3 separate regions of the Homo sapiens genome follow, and regions 1 and 3 are each linked to region 2. The links are contacts of gene promoters, found by promoter capture Hi-C in blood cells and fetal thymus (Javierre and others, 2016). All regions are on one chromosome and are shown on one strand. Each heading gives the region's core, a stretch centred on a gene start or on the middle of the fragment in contact. The rest is flanking DNA. Distances are from core to core; before and after follow the strand shown.

Region 1 (3,213 bases), core at 705-3,204, 360 kb before region 2:
CGGCCCGGGGCCAGGGCCAAGCGCGTGAGCCTTTCTCCTCTGGCCGCTGACCTGCCCGCCTGTTCCGCAGTACGTGGTCATCCCCACGCGGCGCGCCACTGCCGTGGCCTTGCAGAGCTTCACCTCCCACCTGCTGGGGGACGCCGGGAGCCCCTACCTCATTGGCTTTGTGAGTAGCCCCGGGGTGGGGCTGGCCAGGGCAGGCTGGGGGACTGCAGGAGGGCTCTGCCCTGACATCCACCCCCAAATCCTCGCAGATCTCAGACCTGATCCGCCAGAGCACTAAGGACTCCCCGCTCTGGGAGTTCCTGAGCCTGGGCTACGCGCTCATGCTCTGCCCTTTCGTCGTGGTCCTGGGCGGCATGTTCTTCCTCGCCACTGCGCTCTTCTTCGTCAGCGACCGCGCCAGGGCTGAGCAGCAGTGAGTGGGGGGGAGGGGAGGCCCTGCTGCACCGCCGGGAAGCAGGGACCGTGATAGCCACCGTGAGCCCTGCCCTGGGGTGGGGCGGGGAGGGTACAGACCTCCCATGCACTCAGTGCACCCACTGGTTGCTGGGGTCCAGCCCTGAGGCCCAGTGCCAGGGTCAGCCTGGAGCTGTGGGAGGCCACGGGGGTGTCTGGTGGATCCAGACTTGGGTTTGTCTCTGGACTTAGTGGTTTTCAAAGCTGGGGCCCCTCCCCTTCCTCTTACTTTCTGACTTCTTTCTCCTTTCCTCTTTACTCCTCTCTCTCTCCTCTCCCCACCCCTGGGCTCTCCCATCTCCCCCTGGGGCTGACGAGGTCCCTGCCCAGCACCTCCGGTCAGCTGGCCCCCACGACACGATGTGCCAGAGCAGTGCCCGGGCCCGGCCCCCGCTGATGCACCACCCTGACCCCCGCCCGTCTCTCCCCCAGGGTGAACCAGCTGGCGATGCCGCCCGCATCTGTGAAAGTCTGAGGTGGTGAGTGCAGGCCGGGAGGCACGTGGGGGCTCCCTAAGGAAAGGGGAAGGCCAGGGTTAGGCAACAGGGAGCACTTTTCCTCCAGAGTCACCTCCTACCCCAGCACATCCCACCAACTCTGGGCTTTGTCTCTGAAGATGTTGCCAGAATTTACTGATGGAGCCATGGGTGGGACAGCAGGCTGCTCCTTCCAGTAAATTAGCTCCCCTTTCCTTCCTTTCAAGGGCTGGGTGGGGCCTCGCATAGATCAGGGCCAGGACTGGCCAGGAACTCCTCACTCTGTCCGGACTTCTGTTCTCCCAAATCCTCCTGGATGTACCAGGGCCTGACTCCTTGGCCCTTCCCTCTGGGAGTTATAGCTTCCCAGCAGCACGAGACCCAGGGTCACAGCTGCAGGTCCAGGAGAAGGCTTGCGTCTCCAAACAGCAAGAAAAGGGAAGGAGGGAGGGCAGCCTTGGCACAGGCCCCACTAAGCCCCACTGCTGACCTGACACCCCTTTCCCCAGGTGCCATTGGGACAATGAAGAACCCACACTCCCACCTCGTCTGGGAGGTGTCCTACAGCGTCCGGGACCGGCTGGGCTGCCCCAAAGCTTTCTGTGTGATCCACGGCTAGGCACCCACCCTCTCTGGCCCAGGCCTGCTGAGTGGCCCTGGCATCAAGAAGAGGCTGTGTCCTCAGTTACCCTGGAAGGATGTGTGTGTTGGAGCCACACGGTTGGACAGGTTCCCAGCCCTAGGTTTGGGCCGCAGGGCCCCTGGGGCCAAGGAAGAAGACAGCCCCAAGTGGGTGTCCGGGGAGAGCCTGGCCTGCCACCAGCTTATGTGATCTTGGGCAAGTCCCTGCCCTCCCTGGAACGAAGGGCCAGGGGGCTGGACTTTCCCACACAACTTGCTGGGCAAAGCACGATCTGCAGCTTTGAAGACTCAACAGACCCTGGACCATACGGAGAGCAGGTGGCCCAGGCCTCAGGGCGGCAGTCCCGGCTTTGAGGCTCACGCGAGGGCCTGGTATGCAGGGACCACTGCTCAGCTGGGCCTCGGACCTTGGGGATATTGGACGCAACCTGGCAAATGAAGCTGGGCGCCCAAGTCTCTGGGTACTCCCTGGAGGACACTGTCTCACTGTCTCGGGTTGGCTCCCAGCCTGGAGGTCCCAGATGGGGACTGTTCTGACAAGCTGGCATCACCAGGGGTGAAGGCCCTGGCTGCAGCTGTACACCACCTGTGCCCCCAGGCTCAAGGTCTCTGGCAGGTGCACACCAGCCCAACTCTGCAGGGCTTCTCTCCCTGCCACCACCCCCCAAGCCAGGACCCCACTCCTTCCCCGAGGCTGAGCTGAGCCTTTTCCAGGGGCAGGGCCCAGGAGACCATTCCCAGAATCCATGGGGCAGTAGCCAGGGCTCCGGCTGCTGGAGGAAGCAGCTATCCACAAAGCTTCCTGCCCCAGAGCTGAGGCTGAGGCCCCGGGAGAGGCGGCCCCTACCCAAACACTGGCTGCTGGCATTCCACCAAGTGACCCCAGGGGGGGGCCAGGCCTTCGATCACCCACCTCCCATCCATGCACACACCAGGATGCAGCTGCCAACTTCACACCAGCCCCAACCCGCTTTGGGGGAGCTTAGCCCCCTGCGTCACCCACTCCCTGCACTTCTGCTGCAATCAAGGTGGTTCTGGTGCGGGGGTGGGGTGGGGGGTGAGGCCTTGTGGCCAATGGGGGACCCCCCAAGAGCCAGCTTGGACAATGCTCTTCTTGCCCCTTAGTTACTGGCTGGCTGTGGCTTCAGTGGTGTGTAAGCAGGTGGAATACTCACCCACCAAGCTCTGGGGTACCCCGAGGGCCTGACAAGAGGATGGGGTGGGGGTGGCATCCTCCAAAGACCAGCCTCCACCCCCACTCCAGCCTCAGCGGGGCCCCAGCGATGTTTTCTTGTTGTACAAGAACCAGGTCCGAGTGTTGCCTCCTCTTCCTTCCGGAAGCCAAACTGCTCCTTTATTTTTTAGAGCTGCTGATTGTGAATCTCAGAGTCTTAAGAGAGAAGCCAAATATATTCCTCTTGTAAATGAAGAAATAAACCTATTTAAATCACCCCCTGGTGGCTCCCTCACAGCAAAAAAGCCTGGGGGCAAAGAGGTGGCAGGCACGAGAGATGGTCACACCTGCCTGCAGCCAGCACATCAACCTGCACCAACCCAGGCAAACACCAGAGCCCTGGACATGGCCCTGGAGCCAGGGTCCCAGCCCAGAACCGGGGGTGGGGAGGTCTCTGCA
Region 2 (2,500 bases), core at 1-2,500:
TGTTTGGTTCCCACCCGCTCCAGCAGAGCCAGACCAGGGAAGAAGAGGGTTTCCTGGCTACAGCCTCCCTGTGTGCAAGTCCTGCAAAGGGGTCTCCTGTTTGGCTATGAAATGAATATAGATAGATAGCTCACAAGCTGGCAGCCACCAGAGTCCCGTGGGGCTGAGCCTTAGAAAGGCTGGGAGGTCAGCAAGGCTGAATGAAGGGCAGTCCTTGCTTTCTGGAAGACTGGCACCTGAGAGCCTATGTGAACCCTTTCCTCCTGCTGACCCCTGGACTGCGGCCAGGCCTACACACGCCAGGGAACGGGCACACACCATTCTTGTGAAGTTCACAAACTGCAGATTGATCAGCAGGGGGAAGGGATCATAATGCCGTGGTGGCGGCAGCCTACTTTTTCAAAATCAATTTCCTACTGGAGATGGGTGGGAAATTGAAGTCGGTGCGAGCTAAGGCTGGATACACGGCGCGTAGGGGAGATCAGGCACTCGGTTGAAGTAGGCCCCGAGGAAGATGAGGCTGGAGCCCACGCTGAAGAGCACCAGAGCGGCCCAGAAGCAGATGTTGTCAAGGGCATTCCCCATGCGCACCCAGTCGGACACTTCCTGGGGAAGGGTCGGCACAGTCAGTAAAGAGGCAGCTGCAGGAGCCAGCGGCATGGGAGACAGTGGTGGGCCTCTGCCTCGCTCCACCCGCCTCTGGCTCCTGTCCCACCTCGCCGGTGGCCTCCTGATCTCTCGTGCTCTCGGCCACGAAGTTCACGGCATCCACACAGCAGCGGACCTCGGGGGCGGCGGCGCCCAGGCTCTGGCAGAAGGCAGCTGGCGGGGAAAACACCGGGGTGGGCCTTAGGAGCCTCCCCCCTGGCAGGCACCCCGCGCGGCCCCCCGGGCCAGGGCCACTGTGCTCACCCGTCCAGGTCCCCTGCCGGTGCCTCTGCCCCTCAAACACGAGCTCGCTCCGTGGCTTTTTCAGTATCAGCTCCTCCGCGCGGAGCAATAAGCCCACCGACGACGCCCGCCTTGGGGGCGAGGCGGCCCGGGGGGCCTCGGGCGGCGGCGGGGAGCCCAGGAGGCGCGGCAGCAGCTCCAGGAGAACCTGGGGCAGGGGCGGGGCTTAGGGGACGAGGTTAGTACGAAGCCCCACCCCGACCCGGGCTGCACCGCCCCCTCCGCGCTTACGTGGCGCAGCCGCGGGGACATGGCGTGGGTGGTGGGCGTCCGCTGGGACACGTTGAGCACGATGACGCAATTCATGACAATGAGCGTGGCGACCACCATGACGAAAATAAGGAACCTGAGGAGCCCGGAAGGCATGACATCACCGTTCCTCCTCCCAGCTACCGAAGGCGCCGCGCGCTGACCTCACAAACACGGCTTCTCCTGGTACGGGCTGGTTACGCCCTCCAGCTGCGCCCCCTACACGACGACAGACGCGTCCCCCAGCCCTTCTCCTGTCCTACCACTTGTGGCGGCCATGAAGGGGACCCCCAGCTCCCTGGACACCCTGATGTGGATCTACCACTTCCACAGCTCCACCGAGGTGAGGCTACGCCCGCCAAGGGCTGCACCTCGAGACCTTCTGGGTAGGTCTCCTGTTCGCCCCTGTGACCCCTGCCCTGCTACTCTACTGCTCTGCTCCTTCTCCAGGTGGCCCTCCAGCCCCCGCTTCTGTCTTCCCTGGAACTCTCCGTGGCCGCAGCCCATGAATATCTGGAGCAGAGGTTCAGAGAGCTGAAGTCCCTGGAGCCACCCGAACCGAAGATGCAGGGGATGCTGCCTGCCCCGAAGCCCACCCTGGGGCTGGTGTTGAGAGAAGCCACAGCCAGCCTCGTGAGCTTCGGCACCACCTTGTTAGAGGTGGGGTACTGGGGGGCTTAGGATACGCGGCGATCGGGTAGCGGGAACAAGGACCTCTGCCTCCCCGCTAACCCCTGTGCCCCCAATGCAGATCTCAGCCCTGTGGCTGCAGCAGGAGGCGCGGCGACTAGACGGCAGCGCGGGCCCAGCCCCAGACGGCAGGGATCCGGGTGCAGCGCTGAGCCGGGTAGCCCAAGCCGCAGGGCAGGGGGTTCGGCAAGCTGGGGCTGCGGTGGGCGCCAGCGCCCGGCTCCTAGTCCAGGGAGCATGGCTATGCCTGTGTGGACGGGGTCTGCAGGGGTCTGCCTCATTCCTGCGACAGTCGCAACAGCAGCTAGGCCTCGGAATCCCCGGAGAACCGGTGAGCTCAGGACACGGGGTGAGTTAGGGGCCAGAGGCGGCGGGGCTAGGGAGGCACTGAGCCGGACTGTCCCCCAAGAGAGCTACTCGGGAGACCTCCAGGTGACGTCCAGCAGCAGTGAGGAGGACGGCGGACCAGGGACTCCATCCCCGTACCAGCCCCACCCAGCGTCCGAATAAAGCCCAGGGCGGGGCGAGACAGCCAGAGCTTTTCCCGGGGTCTCTGGGTTTTGGCCACGCCCCCACCCTTCACACTGGCCACACCCCCGCGGGGGCTCCG
Region 3 (3,104 bases), core at 177-2,676, 380 kb before region 2:
CCGGGGTCTGGCGAAGGTCTGGGTCACGTCCCTCCAGTCCCTCGTCACCCCCCCGGGAGGGGGCTTTTTCAAGGATCCTACCATGGTGTTGGGGGGCGGGGTGGAGAGAGCGCGCTGTGGTTCTCTGCCGCCTTCTAAACACCAAACCCTGTCCTGGTCTTTAGCCCAGTCCTCCCTCCACAGCCTCATCTCTCGCTGCTTCCTCTTGAGCATCCTCAGGCCATGGCCTGACCTGTCTCCTTGCTGTCCTCAGCAGGCCCTGAACTTTCCCTGACCTTGGGAACATCAGCTGGGACCTTCCCCCTTCCCAGCATGGCAGTCTGGGGAGTGATTTAGAGCAAGGACTCTGGAGTCTGCCAAACTGGGATTTAAATTCTGGCTCAGCCGCACACTCGCTGTGTGACATCACTTCTTTTGGCCTCCATTGTCTCCTCTGTAAAATGAAGAGAACAGAATCAAAAGAGATCATCTGTGCATATGTCAAGGCTGCATGCTGGGCCTTGCCTATATATCCATAAATAATAACTGCAGTTATCATGAACACTAAGCATCATGCCTCGTGAACCATTATACAATATTGCTGATCTGAAGTTTATATTTCAGCGTATATTCTTGATGTTAAGTATTATCTTAGCGGTAAACTCCTATGCATGCTTCAGTGCCCAGCTTTGTCACCACCGCCTCCGGGAAGCCTCTCTTCATTATCCTGGCAGGATCTGGAGCTCCTTGGTGGTTCCCCAACATAGGTTGTCCTTTAAACAGAGCAACCTATGAACAAGATCTGCCCCTGGCCAGACAGGGGGAAACTTCTCTTCTGATTCCTTCTGTCCACTTGCCACCTAGCACAGACAGGCACAGGGAGAACAATTCCTCCTCCTCCCCCAACATGTGTCAGTCCTGATGCAACTGGAAATCTCCCTCCTGCCACATTCTGATCTGATCTCAGGCAGGTCCTTGGAGGCAGGCCCAGCAGGAAAAATTCTTTTTCTAAATGTGAGGAAATAATTTCTGCCTTGACTAATTTAAACAAGGGCCCAGTGTTGACCAAGGCCGGCCTGCTCTGGGCAGGGTGTGGCATTAAGCACCTTGCACGTGCTATCCAGCACCCAGACCCACCCTGGAGAGCTGCTATTTTTATCTTCATTTTACAGATGAGGATGCTGGCATGTTGGCGCTGGCTCAGGCCAGCTCATGAGAGTCAATTGTTAACATTTCAGGAATGGTGTGTGAGCTAGTCGTAAAATACAACCATTGTTAAAAACTAAATGATATCGGCTTACAATTAAATAATTAGAAACAAGGTAATAACTACTCAAAAGTCCTCACTTCCTAATTATTTTGCTGTGTTTCAGCGTTATCTGTGGTCCTATGGTGAGTGGCGTCTGTTCTATTTGTGTGGTAGAAACACTGGACAATGGCGTGTCCCCGCACATCCCTTTCCAACGCCCATCAGTGACACGACGTGGGTAGCTTGAACTCAGCCAGGGCGGAGTGTTTACACCACAGAAATGGGCAAACACGGCCGGGCACGGTGGCTCACCCCTGTAATCCCAGCACTTTGGGAGGCCGAGGCAGGAGGATCACCTGAGATCAGGTGTTTGAGACCAGCCTGGCCAACATGGCAAAACCTTGTCTCTACTAAACATTCAAAAATTAGCCGGGCGTGGTGGCAGATGCCTATAATCCCAGCTACTTGGGAGGCCGAGGCAAGAGAATCGCTTGAACCCGGGAGGCAGAGATTGCAGTGAGCTGAGACGGTGCCACTGCACTCCAGCCTGGGCGACAGAGCGAAACTCCATCTCAGAAAAAAAAGAAATGAGCAAACACGCCACATCAGGGCTCCCCTCACCCTTTATCAGAGCCAGTTAAACATATATCAGCACACCACTGAAGGTGAGACACAGAATGGCTGTGGCCTGACTGAGGTCACCGGCTGGGAAGGAGCGGAGGTGAATTTGAGCCCAGGGAGTGTGCCTCATGCCCGGATTTGTGCACCCGCATGCTGATTCTCCCCAAGGCCTCTGGAATTAACAGGTCTGCTCGTACACCCACCACCCACGCGCACTCACTGGCCTGTTCTTGCTGGCATAAAAGAGGGGCAGTCACTCCTCCAGCCAGGTTCAGGGGAGCTCTGCCTGGCCCTCTCGCCTCTCTTTCACCTCTCTCTTTTCCTCCTTCCTCCCTCCCTCTTTCTCTTCTCTCAGGTCCCATCTCGCCAGGGTCTCAGGCCCACGGAGGAGCAGCCGGGACCACGCACACATTCAGCCTGGCGGTCAGAGGCCAACTGGCTGCCATGTCTGTCACTCCCAGCCTTTGTCTGGCCATCTGCCCATCAGCTGTGGGACTGCTTTCCAGGGGGAGGGATGGGGGGCCACCTCGCTGTGTGACCTAGGGTCCACCCTACCTTGCTCTGGGCCTCTTCATCCCACCTGGGACCTCCAAGGCCCCTCCCATCACTGGCAGTGGCCTCCCTGTGGAATCTTCTAAACCTCTTGTTCTGGAAGAACAAAGCCAGGTCACGGCCTTTGTTCGACATCCCCTCATGTTTTCCTTTCTCACCCATGGACGTCACAGTCATCACAGTGGGCTCCGGGGCCCCACCCCAGCCTCTTTCCTGCTCCTCCAACATGCTAAGTAAACTCCTGCCCCAGGGCCTAGGCACTTGCTGTTCTTGCCCCAATAATTGCGTGATTTGTTTCCTTACCTCCTCCAGGTCCTGGCTGAAATACCCACTTTGACCGCTCAATTTAAAATTGTGGTGGCCGGGTGCAGTGGCTCACGCCTGTAATCCCACACTTTGGGAGGCCGCGGCAGGTAGATCACTTGAGGTCAGGAGTTTGAGACCAGGCTGGCCAACATAGAGAAACCCCGTCTCTACTAACAATACAAAAATTAGCTGGGCGTGGTGGCAGGCGCCTGTAATCCCAGCTACTCAAGAGGCTAAGGCAGGAGAATTGCTTGAACCTGGGAGGCGGAGGTTGCAGTGAGCGGAAATCGCACCACTGCACTCCAGCTGCCTGAGCAACGGAGCAAGACACTGTCTCACAAACAAATAAAACACCAGCTAACTATATCAATAAATTTCTCTCAGCCAGGCACGGTGG

The links. Contacts are between HindIII fragments. The CHiCAGO score rates a contact against its expected background, and 5 or more counts as called.
Region 1: a fragment that was not itself captured here is called in contact with the fragment with the promoter of C17orf107 in region 2 in 1 of 17 cell types (neutrophils); the score reaches 5.5 in neutrophils.
Region 3: a fragment that was not itself captured here is called in contact with the fragment with the promoter of C17orf107 in region 2 in 1 of 17 cell types (neutrophils); the score reaches 6.3 in neutrophils.

What each region holds. Positions count from the first base shown.
Region 1 is chr17:4,536,006-4,539,218 of GRCh38, forward strand. It overlaps SPNS2 (SPNS lysolipid transporter 2, sphingosine-1-phosphate), which reads left to right. Exons shown (of 13, transcript NM_001124758.3): 10 at 71-169; 11 at 258-421; 12 at 895-941; 13 at 1,448-3,030. The coding sequence ends at 937. It overlaps MYBBP1A (MYB binding protein 1a), which reads right to left. Exons shown (of 26, transcript NM_014520.4): 26 at 2,899-3,213. Among named protein-coding and RNA genes, the nearest start is that of MYBBP1A, 18 kb to the right of the region's middle. The HindIII fragment of the contact is 844 bases long and covers 1,533-2,376 here.
Region 2 is chr17:4,898,286-4,900,785 of GRCh38, forward strand. C17orf107 (chromosome 17 open reading frame 107) reads left to right here and starts at 1,251. Exons shown (of 3, transcript NM_001145536.2): 1 at 1,251-1,543; 2 at 1,651-1,860; 3 at 1,952-2,500. The coding sequence starts at 1,478. The coding sequence ends at 2,248. CHRNE (cholinergic receptor nicotinic epsilon subunit) reads right to left here. Exons shown (of 12, transcript NM_000080.4): 9 at 1,183-1,297; 10 at 913-1,099; 11 at 716-822; 12 at 1-606. The coding sequence ends at 451. RefSeq lists silencers at 848-997, 1,018-1,127 and an enhancer at 1,328-1,637. The HindIII fragment of the contact is 47,734 bases long and covers 1-2,500 here.
Region 3 is chr17:4,520,397-4,523,500 of GRCh38, forward strand. All of the region lies in intron 2 of SPNS2 (SPNS lysolipid transporter 2, sphingosine-1-phosphate), which reads left to right. Among named protein-coding and RNA genes, the nearest start is that of SPNS2, 23 kb to the left of the region's middle. The HindIII fragment of the contact is 4,155 bases long and covers 1-3,104 here.